Regions from separate parts of the Homo sapiens genome. Here region 2 is linked to region 1. Evidence: promoter capture Hi-C in human tissues and cell types (Jung and others, 2019). All regions are on one chromosome and are shown on one strand. Each heading gives the region's core, a stretch centred on a gene start or on the middle of the fragment in contact. The rest is flanking DNA. Distances are from core to core; before and after follow the strand shown. Region 1 holds the start of CDH12 (cadherin 12). Region 2 overlaps CDH12 (cadherin 12).

What was found. Contacts are between HindIII fragments. The study calls those that stand out against the background at their distance.
Region 2: a fragment that was not itself captured here is called in contact with the fragment with the promoter of CDH12 in region 1 in 2 of the 25 tissues and cell types used here (dorsolateral prefrontal cortex and heart left ventricle).

What each region holds. Positions count from the first base shown.
Region 1 is chr5:22,850,758-22,854,863 of GRCh38, forward strand. It overlaps CDH12 (cadherin 12), which reads right to left and starts at 2,587. Exons shown (of 15, transcript NM_004061.5): 1 at 2,301-2,587. The HindIII fragment of the contact is 14,494 bases long and covers 1-3,332 here.
Region 2 is chr5:22,648,445-22,652,448 of GRCh38, forward strand. All of the region lies in intron 1 of CDH12 (cadherin 12), which reads right to left. Among named protein-coding and RNA genes, the nearest start is that of CDH12, 200 kb to the right of the region's middle. The HindIII fragment of the contact is 3,566 bases long and covers 46-3,611 here.

The DNA of each region.
Region 1 (4,106 bases), core at 1,337-3,836:
CTGCTAGTAGGTCATTTTATTACCCAAGCCCTTAGATTTTATATTTTTACATGAAAACATGGCTCACTTTTAAAGACAGCCATCACTCTATGAATCCTCCTATCATGGCAAGACTGATTTGATGTTCATCACAATGCATTTTAAGAGGCAAGAGTGACATATATCCTTATTAATCTCATAATGATAAAGGATTGATTTCAACCTATATCCCAGACTGTTACATGAAATAGGCTCTGCCAAAATATCAGGTTCAAAAGATGCTCAATTTAAGGAGATCAGTTTTATGCTCCATCCTCAAAGGACAGAGTTATATGAGGTGTAAGTACGTCACATGAGGCATTAAGAGAAATTTTCTTCCCCATAAACTAAACACTGTTTGTACTGTAGTAAGAACTTAATACATATCATTCCGTGTGTGGAAGAAATGACTCACACTCCCTCCCCCTCCCCCCAACAATAATGCAGCTTTCTCTTTTTTGTAGGAATTATCTAAAATGATCACATCACTAAGCAGATCAGTGAGAGGAGTGAGTTTGAGTAGAAAATAAAAAAGCATTCGTGGCTTAAAAACTTCCCCCTACTGCTTGGAAATGGCACACCACAGTAGAAGTTAAGAACACAGCAAGCAGAGATTAACTGAACAACACAGAAAATCAAAAACATTTTTTTAATGGGGAAGGGGATTAACAATGCCAGGGCTAATCTTGGAAACTGGTCTCTGAAGTAAGAGTTATTAAGAGAAAAATATGTTATGTTCTAGAATTCGATTTTCAACTTAATTGAAAACCTCTTTTTACTTCAGTAGTTTTCATAGAAGGTGGAGAGACAGTTTCTAAATATTGTTGCTGAATAACTCGATGTATCAGTTAAATTAGTTAAAGGGAAGCCCCTGTTTTGCATGTGGCTATCCACTCAACCACTCCAAAACAATTCGTCAATCACCTGTTCATGGTTTGGGCAAAGTAACCATCTGCCTTTCAATTCTGAAGAGACATTCTGCTAGAATCATGGAATTATTTATAATAAAAACTTACTCGGTTGAATTCTCCTGTTGACATAATAATAAAAATATATAAGATGATATTTTAAATTGTCTAGGATAATTTAATGATGAGGCGCTGCCACTGAATGATGAGGTTCAGTATTTCTTGACAGCTGTGTGTCTGGATATTATTTTATAACCTTACAACTGCTCAGGTATACAGTGAAGATCAAGCAAACTAATACCTGCTTGGCATGGTTGCATTTTTCCTGTTTTGGTCATGTATAGTGTAATTTAAAACTGTAAACACATTTTCAGAATCTACTCTATTTGAATTTTTCCCCCTCAGTATGTAAGGTAATTTTCTAGCTGAGCAGTTTGTGAATGAGCTTCAAAATACTCGATGAGAAATTGAGAATCATGAAATGGTCGCAGAATCAGCCAGAAGTATGTCAGTTCCCTCTCCAGAGAGTACAGAGAAATGTGTATAAGAGATATCAGGTACTCTGAAGTACAGAGGTTCTAAATACACTGTGGTCCCGATGTAGCAAAAAACAAATAATGATGTTAAAAACATAAGAAAATACTTATAAAATGCTGAAGGTCTTTTTTGAAAAATGATTTGCCATTATGTCCTATATCACACATATTTCCTCCTTGTTAAATGTATCACCAAATGATCAATAACCTTAAAATAATTTGGAAATGCATATTATATAACCCACAGCAGATCTGGTAATCTATCTCTTTCATTTGTCCCAGATTAGTTTTGTGGTAGGAAACTCAAATGGCTGTACCATGAGAGGCAGGCCATTAAAACATTTAAATGGTTTTACAGTGGTATTTTTCAAATGAAGAATGAAGTTCATAAATTTCAGCGTCAGTGGAGAAATGAGTGAGGGGGGTCGGCATCTCTGGAAGCTCTTTGAAAATAAAGCATTCATTATTTTGTTGTAAAAATCAGATATCTATAAAGCCATTTATAAAATAACTAGTTGGACATCTAGCACACCTACTTATTTTCATTTGAAAATTTAGCCATGCTAAGATGCATTTGAGGTTAAAACATTTCTTTCCTTCCTCTTTTCACGTAACCTCTCACGGTCTGAGGACCAGAGACTTGTTTAGAACTTACCGAAGTTTCCCAAAGCAAAACCACGCACAAGCTCCTAATTCAGCTGCCAGATCTGTGTGCAGCTTCGTTCAGCTTCTCACTACGCTAGGCATCACTTTATTAATCATGTATGAATTTCTGTGCATGCACCCTGAAGCGATCACACACACGCGGTGCAATCCCAATCAAAAACGGAAGCCTTACCTGATGGCAGAAAAGGCAGCTGCAGGAGCAGCAGCACCGACGGCCGCAGCAGGGTGCCAACAGCTCAGCCTTGCGCGGAAGGTGAGACCCTTCTCTTCTGTTTCCCCTTTCCAAATCACTGTGCCAACACACTGCTTTGCATTTTGTCCGTTTTCATTCAAAGAAGGTTCTCCAGGCCGGGCAGCCAGTAGACACCACTTTCTTCCTGGAAGAGGCTGCCTCTCTTCTCAGAAAAGCCTGGACCCCTCTCTGTGGCTCCCTCCACATTTACCCTTCAGATCAATAATGCTCTCGGAGCGGCTGGAGCTCAACTGCAGCGGCGAGCGGCGAGCCAATGGGGGCCCAGGATTCCCTCCTGTCATCTCCCCGCCCTCAAAACAAAACACAGCGTGCCTTTGACACATCATTGAGTAGTGAAAAGTAATTGAATCCTATATTTGAAATGTATTTTGTTTGTTCTTTTTCCCCCCTAGCGTTCATTGTAGAATGCTTTGAATGAATCCGAGGACTCCTTAGCTCTCAGAAGACTCATTAAACGAGCCTAGCAGCGGGTGAAGATTAGGCGCTGAGAAAGTGATAGCACCTGGGTTAGCACCCGAAGCTTTGCTTTTTAAATGCTTGAGATCTATTGCATATCAGAGAACTGTCACCTGGGAGGAAAAAATCTTGGGTTCTATTAGTCTTTCCTCCACTAAGTCGCTTGAGTCTTTTTTGTGAATCAAGACAATTAATTACGTTTACCTGGAAGCTGTCTCAATGTTTAATTGTCTAAACGAGAATCAGATGCTTATTGGTGACAATAACCATGCTCAAGCAATTTCTCCTAATTCACTTACTTGTTTCTAGGCTGATTTAACTTGGTTCAGAGTCTATGAAGAACTCAAGATTGCTAAGACTATATACATTAGTCTGGTCTGTTTTAATTTTGTCATGTTTAAATATTGTAAGATTTTAAAAATTAATGTTAATTTCTCTTTATATGAGAGAATTTATTAATAATTACCTAAAACTTTATAGAATATTATAATGGCAATAAAATATTACAATGAAAAGTGTTATTGTTGAAAACCTATTCCTCCAAAAGCCACAAAACAACTTTGCATTCTTTAACCATGATTATCTTTCTTTGTGTTTCACTATTAAAGTGCTAACTATTGAATAAACATTTGCTTAAATATATTCACCAAGAATCGTGTATTTTCTAAGACTCTAAGTCATTTTATTATTCAGACATCAAGAATGCCACAATATTTCAGATAATCATTTAATTTTGTTCTATAAAAAATCTCAAGAGTACAGAGTCTCAATACAGTTTTAAAAATATGTCTCCCTACAGGAGGACTGTACACAAATAACAATGTCTTTTCAATGCTAGTGTTGAAAAAGAATAAAATTATTGGGACTGTCTGAAATCTTTTTGTTTCACTGAATACAAATGTGTTGATGTAGGTGGTGTAGCCAAGCTTTGTGTATCGTGACAAATTGAAATGGCTTGGGGAGACTTTACAAACAAAACAATTTCGTGACCTGTCTATCACGTGAAGGGAGGCACGGAAAAATGTAATATTTACACACTGTATGCTGTGTCACTATAACAAGGTGAATGCTAACTTTATTGTAACTCATTTATGTAGCCAATAAATATTTCATTCAGGGCAGTCTCTGGCTAAGTTTGGTCACTTGGATTTTGTGAAGAAAAGAATATGCTGATGAAAAAATGAATCATAAACATTGCTTTTCCCTCAATTGTATAGTATATTTTTCATTTATTTAAATTCCTTTTTTGATCACAAATAATAGGTCATT
Region 2 (4,004 bases), core at 579-3,078, 200 kb before region 1:
CTTCACTCAACCCCAATGTCTGTTTTGAAATTCTCTTGAGCTCACTGTATTGGGCTTAGGAAAATATGGTTGCAGTATTTTCTAGGAGATATCTAAGTTCTCTACCGATATCCCTTCCATGACCCTTCCTACCTGTTTTTCACATACACGCAGGTTTAAATAAAACTTAAAAGTTAAATATATTTCTTATAGACACAGGTACAGATATATGATTTGGATCAAACATATGTTCATTATATTCACAGGCAGTTTATAATTTGGAGTTGTTTCTTTAGGACCTGATTTTATGTACCATTTAATAGATTGCTTATTATTTATGCAATCACAAAGGGTAAATCTTAACAACTTTTTTTCACCACTTTCTCAAAGTGACATAAATGACAACATATTCATGATATTTTTTCTCAGTTTAAGCAGAGAATTATTTTTCTTGCCAATTACTTTAAGCTTAACAAAATATCTACTGTGAACAGGATAAGATGGACAAATGTGATAATATTGGAATTTAGTCTGCAAAACTGTAGTTCAAAGAAATGCTAATTATGAATATATGACATTTTAAAATATCCAAAGTGAAAAATGTACTGAATTACAAAGTATGTGTAGAGGGATAAAATCAAGCTGGTTAATGAAAACAGATGTAGAGAAATGATACTGTCAAAAAAGGTAGGAGGGTGAAATGAGGACTAAGGTCTTGGATGTGAAGTCTCTGTAATAAAAATATTATCTGCCTTTTATTAACTGCCTGAAATGTACCAGGCACTCTGCCAGGCTTGTGAATACAATATTTCCATTGTTTGCAACAGCGATTATTATGAATAGGCTTTGTTATTTACCCTTACTTTTCCTTTTGTGAACTGTGTGAGCTAATGAAAACTTAGGTGACTTGCCCAAGGCTAGGCAGAACTCTGACTCAGATGAATGCTTTCCTTTCCAAGGCCATATTTCTTTCTATGCATTGTGGTACCACACACAGGAGAGTGGGAGAGCAAGAGACTCATATTTTTCACATACTAATGCAAGGGGAACACTAGGCAAGAAGAGAAGAGGACAGCAGAAAGAACAGAGTTGAGTTTTATTTAAGTGACTGTCAATTTAGCATTTGGAAAACATAGGATTTCAAAGATAAGAAATGCTATACCGCATTAGGTAATTTGACATTTGGTGGCATAATGTGATACGAGCTTTCTTAAACAAACAAAAATGCCTATCCTTATTTGAAAATGAGATGGCAATGCCAAGGTATAAAGACTGGCATACACTTTGCATTGCTAATAGTATGAGTTTTCTATAATCGCTTCAGAAAAGCTTTTTTGCATGAGCTAGTAAATCTAAAGGGGAATCATATGATAAAATCCAGATATCCATTATTAGAGAACCTCAATTCTATACAAAAAACATGCACAACATTCACAACACCATCTATGGCAGCACTGCTTGATGTGTAAAGTTACATATATATATAAAATTATAGAGATTAACAAATACAAATTATATGCTTACACATTCATTTATTTTACCGAATAGTTATATGTATATTTTTGTGCACATGTGCATGGGTGTCTATATAACATAAATGTCTAAATTAAATGGGTGCAAAATTAAATCATAAAATAATACACTTAGTCTGGCTGTAATTATGTAAAGGCTAAAACCAGAAAAAGGAAACAAATTATTGCTTGAGGATACATATGCCTATATAACAAAATTGTAAATAAGTGCTAGAAAATGATTAGTAAAACATTCATGATTAGTGGCTATCATAGAGAGTGGACAGAGAGGCAAAATCTTTGGGAAGATGCACACAGGAAACTTCAGAGGGAGGGTTTGTTTCATTTCCTAAGCTTGGTGATAGATATAGGCTTGCTCTTCTTAGTTTTATTTTTTGTTTAGTTATGGAAACCATATCTAGTCTTTGACCACTTAGTTAGTGATTGCATTGTATAAACAAACAATAAAGCAGTACTTGGAAATATTAGAGATTTAAACTGTGTCCTTAGAGAGTAACCACAGTTCCCTTTGTAAGGGCAAGTGTCTATTAATTCTTTACTCCCTTAGCAATGTTCTTTCAACACAAAATCATATGTACACACTTGCAAGAGAATAATTAGAAAGAGAACATAATTGCTGTAGGCATTTAGAAGTTAGAAGGAAAAGAATTCTCTGCTCATTATGCACTGCACTGTGTCTACCACGGTGGTTTGAGCCTGTTAACCCCTTTCATCTTGTGCACTTCATCCATGAGAAAGAGATAACAAGTGCAAAATGATATTGGGTAATGAAGCATCACTCTCTGCATGCTACCCATCACAGGGACACGTGTACAACATCAATATCAGAAACTACTAAGAAGGGAAATGGCAGGCTCTTATCTGCCACTGCAAGTGGGTTTACAAGCAGAACTAGCATTTTGACATTAGCCTATTTGATGGGGAATCTTTACACTGTGTGGTGGGAGTCTTTCTTGGAAACAAACGAGAGGCGATAACTGTTAATATCCATGTTGTAGGTTTTTATTGTTACTATTCCTATTAATATTAGTAGTTAGTGTATTTCCATGTTTAATATCAGAAAAGTCTTTCTTGAGCAGAGATTTCCAATTATAAGATAACTTACTCAAAGTATAGGTAGAGGGAATTAGTCCATTTATATCATCAAGAGGCCCCATATCCAAAATATATTTTAAAGTCACAGCCAGCTTGCCTGTTTGACCTTAACTTAAATGTTACCTTCTCAGACTTCTCTAGCTACTTTATAAATGCAAACTACCTCTTCCCTCCCCAAACCCACACTTCTATATCCATTCTCTGCTCTATTTTTCTTCTATTTAAAATATCAGATGGCTGATATATTAGTCCATTTTCACACTGCTCTAAAGAACTCCCCAAGATTGGGCAATTTAAAAAGGAAGGGGGAGGCTTAATAGACTCACAGTTCAGCATGGCTGGGGAGGCCTCAGGAAACTTACAGTGATGTCAGAAGGTGAAGCAGAAGTAAGGAAACTTCTTCACAAGGTGATAGAAAGGATAATGAATGCAGGAGAACTACCAAACACCTATAAAACCATCAGATGTCATGAGAATTTACTCACTATCATGAGACCAGCATGGGGGAAACCACTTCCATGATCAAATTACCACCACCTGGTCTCTCTCCCTTGACACATGGGGATTATGAGGATTACAATTCAAGATAAGATTTGGGTGGAGACACAAAGCCTAACCATATCAGCTAAGGAGTAGTTGATAGGATGGTGGTTTTTTTTTTTTCAGAGTAATAAAATGTTCTAAAATTGATTGTCATGATGGATGCACAAAGATGCCCAAATCTGAATAAAAAGCCAATGAATTGTACGCTTTTCAATGGTTGAATTTTATGGTCTGTGAATTATATCTTAATATATCTGTTTTTTAAAAAAAGATTATAAAGGAGCAAATCTTTTCAAGTTCTAAGTTCCAAGTTCTAGGGAATCACAGGAAAACCCCCCTCGGACACTGAAGCATTAGAATTGTAAAAATAAATACCAAGTAGACCTACAACAGTGGAAGTGAGATACAGTCCAAATGTGATAGATGGTTAAAACGTAGGTTCAGAATAATTACTGAATACTTCTAGGATAGAATTCATACATATAGTAACCATGAAATGGAAAAAGATTAAAATGTGAAGTATGGTCAAGATTATGAAGACAGGCTATAACAGACATTTTGGGTCAAGAGGGTAACAGTGTAACAGTGTAGTGAGGACTTAGGGGGAACAGATTAATTAATTCATTATGTAAATGATCTCCTGCACAGCACTTAAGAGACAATACTAACATATGACCACAGAGCACAATGGTAATCAACACTAGGGGTTTCCAGAGTTAAAATTACATGTGATATATTTAAAAAGGAGCCTTGTTCTTGACATTCTGTAGCCCTCTGTTATCAAGGACTTAGCATGTCACCAGAAGCATCAATCAAAATTGATTACATACTCTAGAACCAGGTCTTGAATGACAG